Linked DNA regions of Homo sapiens: region 2 is linked to region 1. Evidence: promoter capture Hi-C in 16 types of primary human blood cells and fetal thymus (Javierre and others, 2016). All regions are on one chromosome and are shown on one strand. Each heading gives the region's core, a stretch centred on a gene start or on the middle of the fragment in contact. The rest is flanking DNA. Distances are from core to core; before and after follow the strand shown. Region 1 holds the start of NSD2 (nuclear receptor binding SET domain protein 2). Region 2 holds the start of CTBP1 (C-terminal binding protein 1).

Region 1 (4,395 bases), core at 1,040-3,539:
TAAACTTTGTAAGATTTGATTACTTTTAGAAGGAGAAGATAATCTGAATAGGCAGAAGGCTGTACCCATGTAAGCCCCACAGGATTAGGAGGAGTGGGTTGTCTTCTACCTATTCAGATTATCTTCCTGACTCATTCTAGGACTCTGCTTAATGCTTCATTTGGGTCCGCACACTTCAGCAAGTACTGGTTTGAAAGCCCTGGATAAGCTGATTGCATAGAAACAAAGCAAGTCGCACCTGCAGCCTGCTGACCTTATAATTTTGTTGTGCATGGCTCCAAAAGTTATATTAGTTTATATGTTACATACGAATAGATACGATAAATTGTCCATCATTCTTTCAAATTCTCAGTTAATTACCTCATACTCTTAAAATAAAATCTTTACTGTTATAATCAGAGGCCAGACTCTGGTATTAATGCAGTCAGGAGAGGACAATTTTTGTACTGAGATCAGAGCTCTTCACAAAAGCTTACACAAACTCAAAATTGTGCAGTAAGTCCTCACTCTACCAACCATCAGCCCAAAACTGAAGGTTGCTGGGTTTGGGTGGCTGAGAAAATGGAAGGAAAGAAAAGGAAATGACTCAAAGTAATCGTGCTTAAAGCATGAGTCCTCTTCATCTCCATTTGGCAGTTTAGATTTGAACCACCATCAGTTGTGGGGAATGAGAGCACACATCAAGTACACAAGGAAAGGCTGTGCTCACAGAACTTGTTTGCTTTATGTTGTTGGCGTTCTGCTCTTTAAAATATTGTTGTTCTCATCACATTTAAATACGTAACTAGGGCACTTAAAACATTTTGGGAAAATTAAAAAGTTTAAGTCCCAAGTTCATAAATGGGATGGCTCCTAAGTTATTTTCCACGTTGATATTTGAAATACACAAAATAGAGTGAATATAACCCATGCGTGATGCTGGCGTTTAACTCATTTAAAAATCAAGGCTTGAAAGTCTGTGAAGCAGGTGGGTAGCACTGAAGAGCTGCTCCTGAGCCAGGCCTGAACTTTATCCAATTAGTCTTGTCTTCACAGGGTCTGCGCGCTCTCTCTCTCTCTCTCTCTCTCTCTCTCTCTCTCTCTCTCTCTCACACACACACACACACACACACACACAAAATACACGTTATCTACCTAAAAACGATTAACGTCACCACATCAGTTTTGATACTATGTTTCCACTTGAATGTCAAAGCCCATCGTGGGCACAGAAAGATTCGTGCTGCAATGGGTCCTATACAATACCCTCATCCATTTTATTTCTACCGAAACTTAAGACCAGCATTTTTTAAACGCCGAGATTTTAAACCACGGTTCCTGTGAGTGGAGCAAAACCAGCCATTAAGTCGCCAGGTCCCATCTCATGCACTGAGGCTTCAAGGACTATCAATCTGCATCCTGGGGCGAGGGGAACATCCCAGGCGGAGGCCCGGACGCCGAGGGCGCGCAGCCCCCCAGCAGGGTACCCACACCCGGCTCACCCCCGCCTCCACCTGCCAAGGGCCGGACCGCGGCCCGGCTTCCCGGGGGAGCGTCCGCGCTGACCAACGCCCGGGCGCCGCGAGTGTCAACGCCAGACACCGCCTGCAAACAAAAAGCGACCCTCGGCCCGACCCCTGGCCCCGGCGCCGGCCCCGGGACCCCAACCTGCCCCTCCCACCGCGGCCGCCCCGGACCGGGGGCGCCGCACAAAGGCCGGCCCGACCCGCTCGGCGCCGCGGGAACAAAGGCGGCCGCCTCGGCCGGGCCGGGCACAGGTGCAGCCGCAGGGCCCGGCCGGGCCCAACATGGCCGCGCCCGCCCGCCCGGCCCCGTTAGCCGCCGCCGCCCGCAGGCCGCCGCCCCTCCCCTGCCCGGACTCGTCCCGGCCTCCGCGGTCCGCCCGGTCCTCCCGCCGGCCCTCAGGCCTCCGCGGTCCTCGCGGTCCCCACGACCCTCTCAGGCCGCCCGGCCTCCCGGTCCCCCAGCCCCTGAGCCGGCCCCTCAGGCCTCCTCAGTGCCCCCACTCCTCCCGGCGCTCCCGCCCCCTCAGGCCTCCGCGGTCCTCCCCGCCGCCCCTCAGGCCTCCCACAGCCCGGCCTCCCGGCCCCAGCCCCGGCGGTTGGCGGCCCGCGACTGTTGGGCGGGCGCCCCAGTGACCTGCGGTGCGTCGCATCCTCGGCGGGCGGCTCTCCGGAGCGGCAGGCTGGGAGGGGGCCGGGGCCGTGCGGCGGTAGGGCCCAGGCGGGGAGGGGGCGGCGGCGGCGGCGGGCGCAGCGCGGCCAGGCCGAGGCTCTCGCGCGCGGCGCCGACCCCGCCCCCGCGCCTCCCGCCCGCCGCCGCCGCCGCAGCCGGGGCCGCCGCCGCCTCGCAGAAGCCGCGGGAAAAGTGCGCGCCGCTGATTGGCTGCCGCGCTCGCGGGGCCCGCGGACCGGGCTTTTCAAATCCGCGCCGGGGCCGCGCACGGGCGGGGCGGGCAGGCACGCGGCGGGTGGGGGCCGCGCGGGCGGGCGGGGCTGGCAGCGCCGGGAGGGCCGGGCCGCGGGCCCCGCGAGCCGCCTCAGAGTAGCGCCGGGCGCGCGCCCTGCTCCCGCTACTCGGCGGCGCGCACCCGGCCCAGACCCGGCGCCCGCGGGCGCCGCGCTCAGTGACGTCACGATCCGCGCCCAATCACCGTCCGGAGCCGGCGCCCCCGAGCCGTGGGCGCGCGGCCGCGGAGGCTGGCGTTGGGCGCGCGGCCCGCCCGCGCGGGTCCCCAAGCTCCTGTCCCGTGAGAGGGGCGCGGGGCCTGGGGCCCGCGGGAGGCTGCTAGCGGCGTCCGCCTCGCGGAGCGGCAGTGCGGGGACGGGTGGGGAAACCGCCGCAGAGGCCCCGCCGTGGCGGGCCCGGAGCCTCAGAACAGACGTGGCGGAGAGGGTCAGACGCCACGACGGGGCAGGGCAGGGCGTCGTGCTCTTCCCGCCTAACGGCCGCAGGGCGTGAACGAGTCCCCCGGGCGAGGGTCCGACCCGGAGCTGGGCGCGGCTGCGGGAGGACCGCTCGCGAGGGGAGGACGCCTGGTCCAGGGGCGCTACCCCAGCGCCGCTGCGGTAGAGCCGGGCTTCAGGGGGTGGCGCGGGCGACTGCGTGCGGCACAGGGAGGAGGAGGAAGCGGCGCGGGCGAGCGGGGAAGTCAGACGCTGCAAAAAGTGGGCGGGCCGGGCGGTTGAAGCCGGTGTGATTTGCTGCCCGCCGCCCATGGAAGTTCGGCTCCTGCCTCCAGGTGCTGCCGGAGCCGGCGGCCTTGGGTTTTCTGTCACGCAGGTTCAGGGAGCCGGGAACACCTTCGGCCTTGAGCCTTAGTGTCTGCTCGAGCTTTACAGGCCCAGCTTGAGCCCTCGCTGAGAAGCGGGCCCAGGGGAGCCTGGCGAGAGTTTGGTCAAGGAGAGCTTTGTGAAAGTGCGCTACCCGGGCTATAGAACGACACCTCAGCCCAGGTCCTGCCTCCCCGGACCCACCTCCAGCCACCAAGGAGTGGCCACAGTTCACCTCCTCTTCCTCTCCCGCGCCGCCTCCGCTGCTGTCCCTTCACAGGTGCTGGGCCCCTGTATGGGTTGAGTTGTGGCCCCCCCAAAAAAACAAGGGTTGCTGCAAGACTTACTATAAGGCTACAGTAATTGAGACATTGTGGTACTGGTGGAAAAATACACAAATAGATCCATGAACAGAATAGAGAACCCGGATATAGACCACATAATGGAGTCAGCTGAGCTTGACTCTAGGAAATGGAATGGAGAAAAGACAGTCTTTTCGACAAATGGTGCTGGAACAACTGGATGTCCACATGCAAAAAAAAATCAGGCTAGACACAGACTTTACACCCTTAACAAAAATTAATTCAAAATGGAGCCAAGGCCAGTGGCTCACACCTGTGAGAAGTGTGAGCCAGCACTGTGGGAGGCCAAAGTGAAAGGATTGCTTGAGCCCAGGAGTTGGAGACCAGACTGGGCAACATAGCAAGACCTCGTCTCTATCACCAAACAAATAAATGAATTTTTAAAATTACGGCCAGTGCCAGGCATGGTGGCTCACACCTTTAATACAAGCACTTTGGAAGGCCGAGACAGGTGGATCGCCTGAGGTCAGGAGTTCGAGACCAGCCTGGCTAACATGGTGAAACCCCGTCTCTACTAAAAAAAAATACAAAAATTAGCCAGGCATAGTGACGGGCATCTGTAATCGCAACTATTCAGGAGGCTGAGGCAGGAGAATCACTTGAACCCGGGAAGTGGAGGTTGCAGTGAGCCGAGATCATGCCACTGCACTCTAGCCTGGGTGACAGAGCAAGACTGTCTCAAAAAATAAAAAATAACAAAAAGTGAATAAGCCAGGCACAGTGGCTCACACCTGTAGTTCTAGTTATTTGGAAATCCGAGG
Region 2 (4,331 bases), core at 1-2,500, 620 kb after region 1:
CCTCACCCTCCCCAAAGCTCTGGTGACACCTGCCAGGTTTCCTCCAGGCCACAGCTCGGCAGCCCGATCTTAGAACAGAACGTGGCACGCAGGGCAGGTCTGGCTGAGGGCCCAGCATTGTCAGCGGGGTTGGAGGTCTTCCCGGGCCTCGAAGGGGAGACGTAGGCTTCTCAGGGCAGCCCAGGACGCGTCCTCACGAACCACAGCGAAATTACAGCAGGTATCTCGCGGATAGGAGTCTGCATCATTCCGTCTCCATGCCGTGGTTTCTGAAATTATGCAACTATCTCGGCATTCCAGAGGGCTCAGAGTAGCCACGCGCAGAGGCCCTCCCCATGGGGTGGATGGAAGCGTCCACTCGCGGCGCGAGGAATATCCCTGGGCCCCTCGGGAGAGTCTGCAGGGGCAGCCCCTGGGTGAGCAGGCCCAGTGCGGCCTCTCCCTGAAGGGACTTTCGGGCCCTCCCGGGTCGGGGCTTCACCGGTAGCAGGCAGGGCTTTGATATTAATGCTTAAAGGGAAAGCAGAGCTGAGCTGTCAGGACGTTGGTTAGCTACAAACCCTACTCTTGTTAAAAGAGAAATGGGGTCGGGGAAGGGGTTCTCCAGCCCTGAACTTCCCGGGCCGGGCAGGACGCGGTCCCTCCAGGAGTCGGGGCTCCCCCGCCTGGGGACGCACTGGGGCAGGCGCGCTTCTCCTCTCGGGGTCCCATGTGCCGCCGGCTCTCGGACGGTAAATCAGGGCTCGGGTGGGGGCGATGGGGGGCCCGCGGCCTCGGTGCCCCTGGCCAGCCTCGGAGGCGCACGGGCCAGGCCGCGGGGCGAGAAGCGAGCGCGGGAGGGCGGCAGCTGGCGGAGCGGGAAGGGAGCGGGGCGGCTGCGGCTGCGGCGCGGAGGAGCGCCATTTACGTTCGGGCCCGCGCCAGGCGCTGACGTGGGCGGCCCTGTCTCGGCTTCCGGGCCCGCAGGGTCCTCGGGGCGGACGGCGCTCCCGCCAGCGGCGCTGAGTCCGGCCCGACCCTGCCCGACTTCCTCGGGGACAGGCGGTTTAGAACGTGCGGAACACCAGGCCCGGGGCCTCCGCCGGGCTGCAGCCCCGCGAGCTTCCCGCCAGGCTCCCGCCCCGCCCCGCCCCGCAGCCGCGTCCCGGCCGGGCGGGCCCTGAGCCGCCCGCGTGAGTCCGTGCGCCGCCCGCGCTGGGAACCAGGAGACCAACCGCGAGGCCCCGCCCGCGCGCGCCGCCGTGTCCCCGCCCGCGCGGTCGTCGGAGCGCGGCTCAGCGGCGCGGCGGAGACTCGGCACGGCGGCGGCCAGGCGCAGGCGGGCGGGCGGAGCAGCGGACGGCGCCGAGGCCGCCCCACGCGCCGGGCTCGCGGCGGCGCAGCGCGCCGGAGTGGTCGGGGCCCGCGGCCGCTCGCGCCTCTCGATGGGCAGCTCGCACTTGCTCAACAAGGGCCTGCCGCTTGGTAAGGCCGCGCGCGCGCGCGTTTCCGGCCGCGGGCGGGGGCGGGGCGGGGCGGGTGCCGCGCGGGCGGGGGGCGCGGGGGCGGACCGAGCGCGCGCCCGCGGGCCGCCGGCTTTGTGTGCGAGTGCGCGTGCGCGCCGGCGTCCGCGCGTGGCCGCGGTCGGGGGCGGGACCGCGGGAAGGGTCTTGCGCATGCGCGGGCCGCTGCGTGTGCGCGAGCGCCGCAGTCTGCTCTCCCCGCCCGCGGCCCGTGCAGGTGACACAAAAGGGCCTGTGGGCCTCTGGGCTGCCCCGCCGGACCCCCAGCTCCACCGACCCCAGCCCCGTCGGACCCGGGACGGCACCCCGGGTCCCGATCCCCGGCCGCTACCCCGTCCCCGGTCATGACCCCGTGGCTGGGCCTGCGGGGCCGGGATGGGGCGGGAGCCGTGCGCAGCTCGGGGTGTCCTGGGGCGCGCGCTCCCGGGCCACTCGCGGGAGCGCGCCTCCCGCGGGGAGGCCGCCGGCGACCGTGGCCGCGCGCTGTGGGGGAAGGGGACGGGGCGCGGGTGCCGGGTATGACCGTGGAGGAGGCCGCTGCCCTCAGACCGGGCCCAAAGCGCAGCCCCCGGCGGTGACGCGGGAGGGCCCGGGGTCTCCGTTCCCGCGAACTCCGCGAGGTCCCGGACCGGCCCAGCGCCCCCACCTGCCCTTGCCTGGGCCCGCCCAGGTCCCGGGGCGCCTTCCTCGCGGGCTGCGGCCGCGGAAGCAGGGAGCACGGGCGGGCGCCGGGCTTGCCACCATCGCCATCTTGCAGCGCCCGCGTCCTGGGCCGGCCCGAGCCGCTGCGCGGAGCCTCTCTTTCCCTCGACCCGGCTGCAAAGGCAGAGTCCGTGCGCCTGAGCCCCGGGCCGAGACTGGAGCGTTCTCTGGCGGCCTCCAAGGGCGCCGGTGTCTGGAAGCCCGGCCTGGGCCAGATCCCTTTTGCTGTCGTCTCCGTGATTGCCGGGACAGAATTCCCTTCCAGTGGGGAAAAGGGAAGGCGGTCGCGCCCTTCCCGGTGCCCTGAGTGGGGAGGTGAAACCCTGAGAGTTGGGGCAAGAGGGCCTGGAGCTAGGGCCGAGGCGGCGGGTGCGCAGGGTGTTCCGTTGAGCCCGAGCCCCCCCCCCCTCCCCGGCCTCTCCACCGTTTCTGTAGGAGCGCGGCAGGGAGCACACGTCCCTCGGGAAGAAAACGGCGCTGGCGGCTGGGCCCGCACCGCGGCCGTCCTCGCTGAGCTCCTAGCGCGTGGCCTTTGCGCGTCTGTGTACCCGTCTGCAGCTTGGGGCAGGGTTGGGGGAGAACCGTGGGGTAACTATTTGCCGTTGCAGCTGAGGATGACAGCTGCGGTTTGGGGGTCCCCCTTTCTGTGTCCTGGAACTTTGTAGGGCGTGGCTCTGCCCTGGGCCTCAGCACCCGGCCTCCCAGGTCTCCCCTGCCTGCCCGGGCCTGGCCACCTCCCTCTGGGGTCTGGGTTTGGCTCCTGGTTGGGGCTGTCGGCTCCGCAGACGCCTTTTGCTCTCTGTGATTCTGTTGCCCATCTTTGAGCACCTGCTTCCATACAGGCGTCCTCTGCAGAGCTCTGGGAGGGACACGCACTGGGGGTGGCATCTGGTCACTCCTGGGGGTGCCTCGTCCGCCTGCCCGGCCATTTTTGGGGTGTCTGCCATGTCCCCAACATGCACTTCTTCCTGTCAGCCTTGACCAGGGCAGCTGTTAGTTCTGAGAGGTGGGCGTGTGGTTGGGGATGTCAGCGAGTAGGATCTTCCCTTTTACTCGCTTGTCATTAACCTGAGAACGTGGCAGTGGGGGAGGAGAGGCTTGGCCCGGGGTGCACAGGACTGTGGGCTGGTCCTGTCCCTCTGATGAGTGGGACGAGCCTTGGTCCAGTCCTGTGGGCTTGGCGCAGAGCCGGCCCCCTGCCATGTCCTGGTGGGATTGGAAGTGCTGGCTCGTCCTGTCTGCCTCCCCCAAGGGCTGGGAGCCCCCCACTCTTTGGACATTTGTAGTGTAAGCAGACAGCAACTGTTAACCATCATTCTGTTAATAAATTTTTTCTGGAGGAACCCTGGACAGAAGTAGTCATGCTCTCCAGGAAACGGGCCCCAGGCTCGAGAGGCCCAGTCTCTTCCCTCGGGGCTTAGAGGTGGCCGTCAAGCCACACCTGGTTCCCCACCAGCCTGGCAGTTTTTCTGGTTTTTCTCCTCTGACTGTCACTTGCCCTCTCAACTTCCTGCGGCCAGTACCCCCAGAATGTGACCTGGTCTGAGCTGACGGTGGTGTCACTGAGCCAAGAGGCGTGTGGCTGGCACCACTAGTGTTGCTGAGAACTCTTCAGGCAGCACTTTGTGCCCGGCTGTGCCCTGGTGCTCCCCATGCAGTGCCCAAGTCAAAGGTGTGTGCCCTGTGAGGTGTTTACCCCGGTTGACTCTCCTTGTAGAAGGACTTAATGTTTCCCACTCCACTGGGGGCTGGAGAGGGCTCCATCCAGGTGGTGCTGACGGTGCAGGCCTGGCCCAGGGCCCAGGGGTGGCCAGGAGGTGGTAGAGGCAGCAGGCAGTGTCATACGGGTTCTGTGGTTGAACTGCATCGCCCAAGGGAACGCTGGTCGGAGCGCCGGGTGGAGCGCCAGGGTCCTCTGGTGGTCGCTGGATGTTGGTAGTTGTGGGTAAGAGCTCTGTGCCGGGAGTGTCTGGACCCCCGGGTCCTCCATTGTCAGCTGCAGTGGCCGGAGCCCACTGCTCTCCCCCGCACTGGGTCGTGGTAACCCACAAGGTGCCACCTGCGTCACTGACCATCGTTTCCAGAAGCCCCTCCGGCCACACATTCCATGTGGTATCTCCCACAAGG

Evidence for each region. Contacts are between HindIII fragments. The CHiCAGO score rates a contact against its expected background, and 5 or more counts as called.
Region 2: the fragment with the promoter of CTBP1 here is called in contact with the fragment with the promoter of NSD2 in region 1 in 1 of 17 cell types (naive CD4 T cells); the score reaches 5.2 in naive CD4 T cells.

What each region holds. Positions count from the first base shown.
Region 1 is chr4:1,869,287-1,873,681 of GRCh38, reverse strand. NSD2 (nuclear receptor binding SET domain protein 2) reads right to left here and starts at 2,289. Exons shown (of 22, transcript NM_001042424.3): 1 at 2,140-2,289. RefSeq lists silencers at 1,856-2,555, 2,606-2,835, 2,866-3,125 and an enhancer at 2,859-3,360. The HindIII fragment of the contact is 4,701 bases long and covers 474-4,395 here.
Region 2 is chr4:1,246,049-1,250,379 of GRCh38, reverse strand. CTBP1 (C-terminal binding protein 1) reads left to right here and starts at 1,250. Exons shown (of 10, transcript NM_001012614.2): 1 at 1,250-1,464. CTBP1-DT (CTBP1 divergent transcript) reads right to left here and starts at 940. Exons shown (of 2, transcript NR_033339.1): 1 at 908-940; 2 at 1-269. RefSeq lists enhancers at 1-61, 122-171 and silencers at 542-1,471, 1,642-2,361. The HindIII fragment of the contact is 9,350 bases long and covers 1-4,331 here.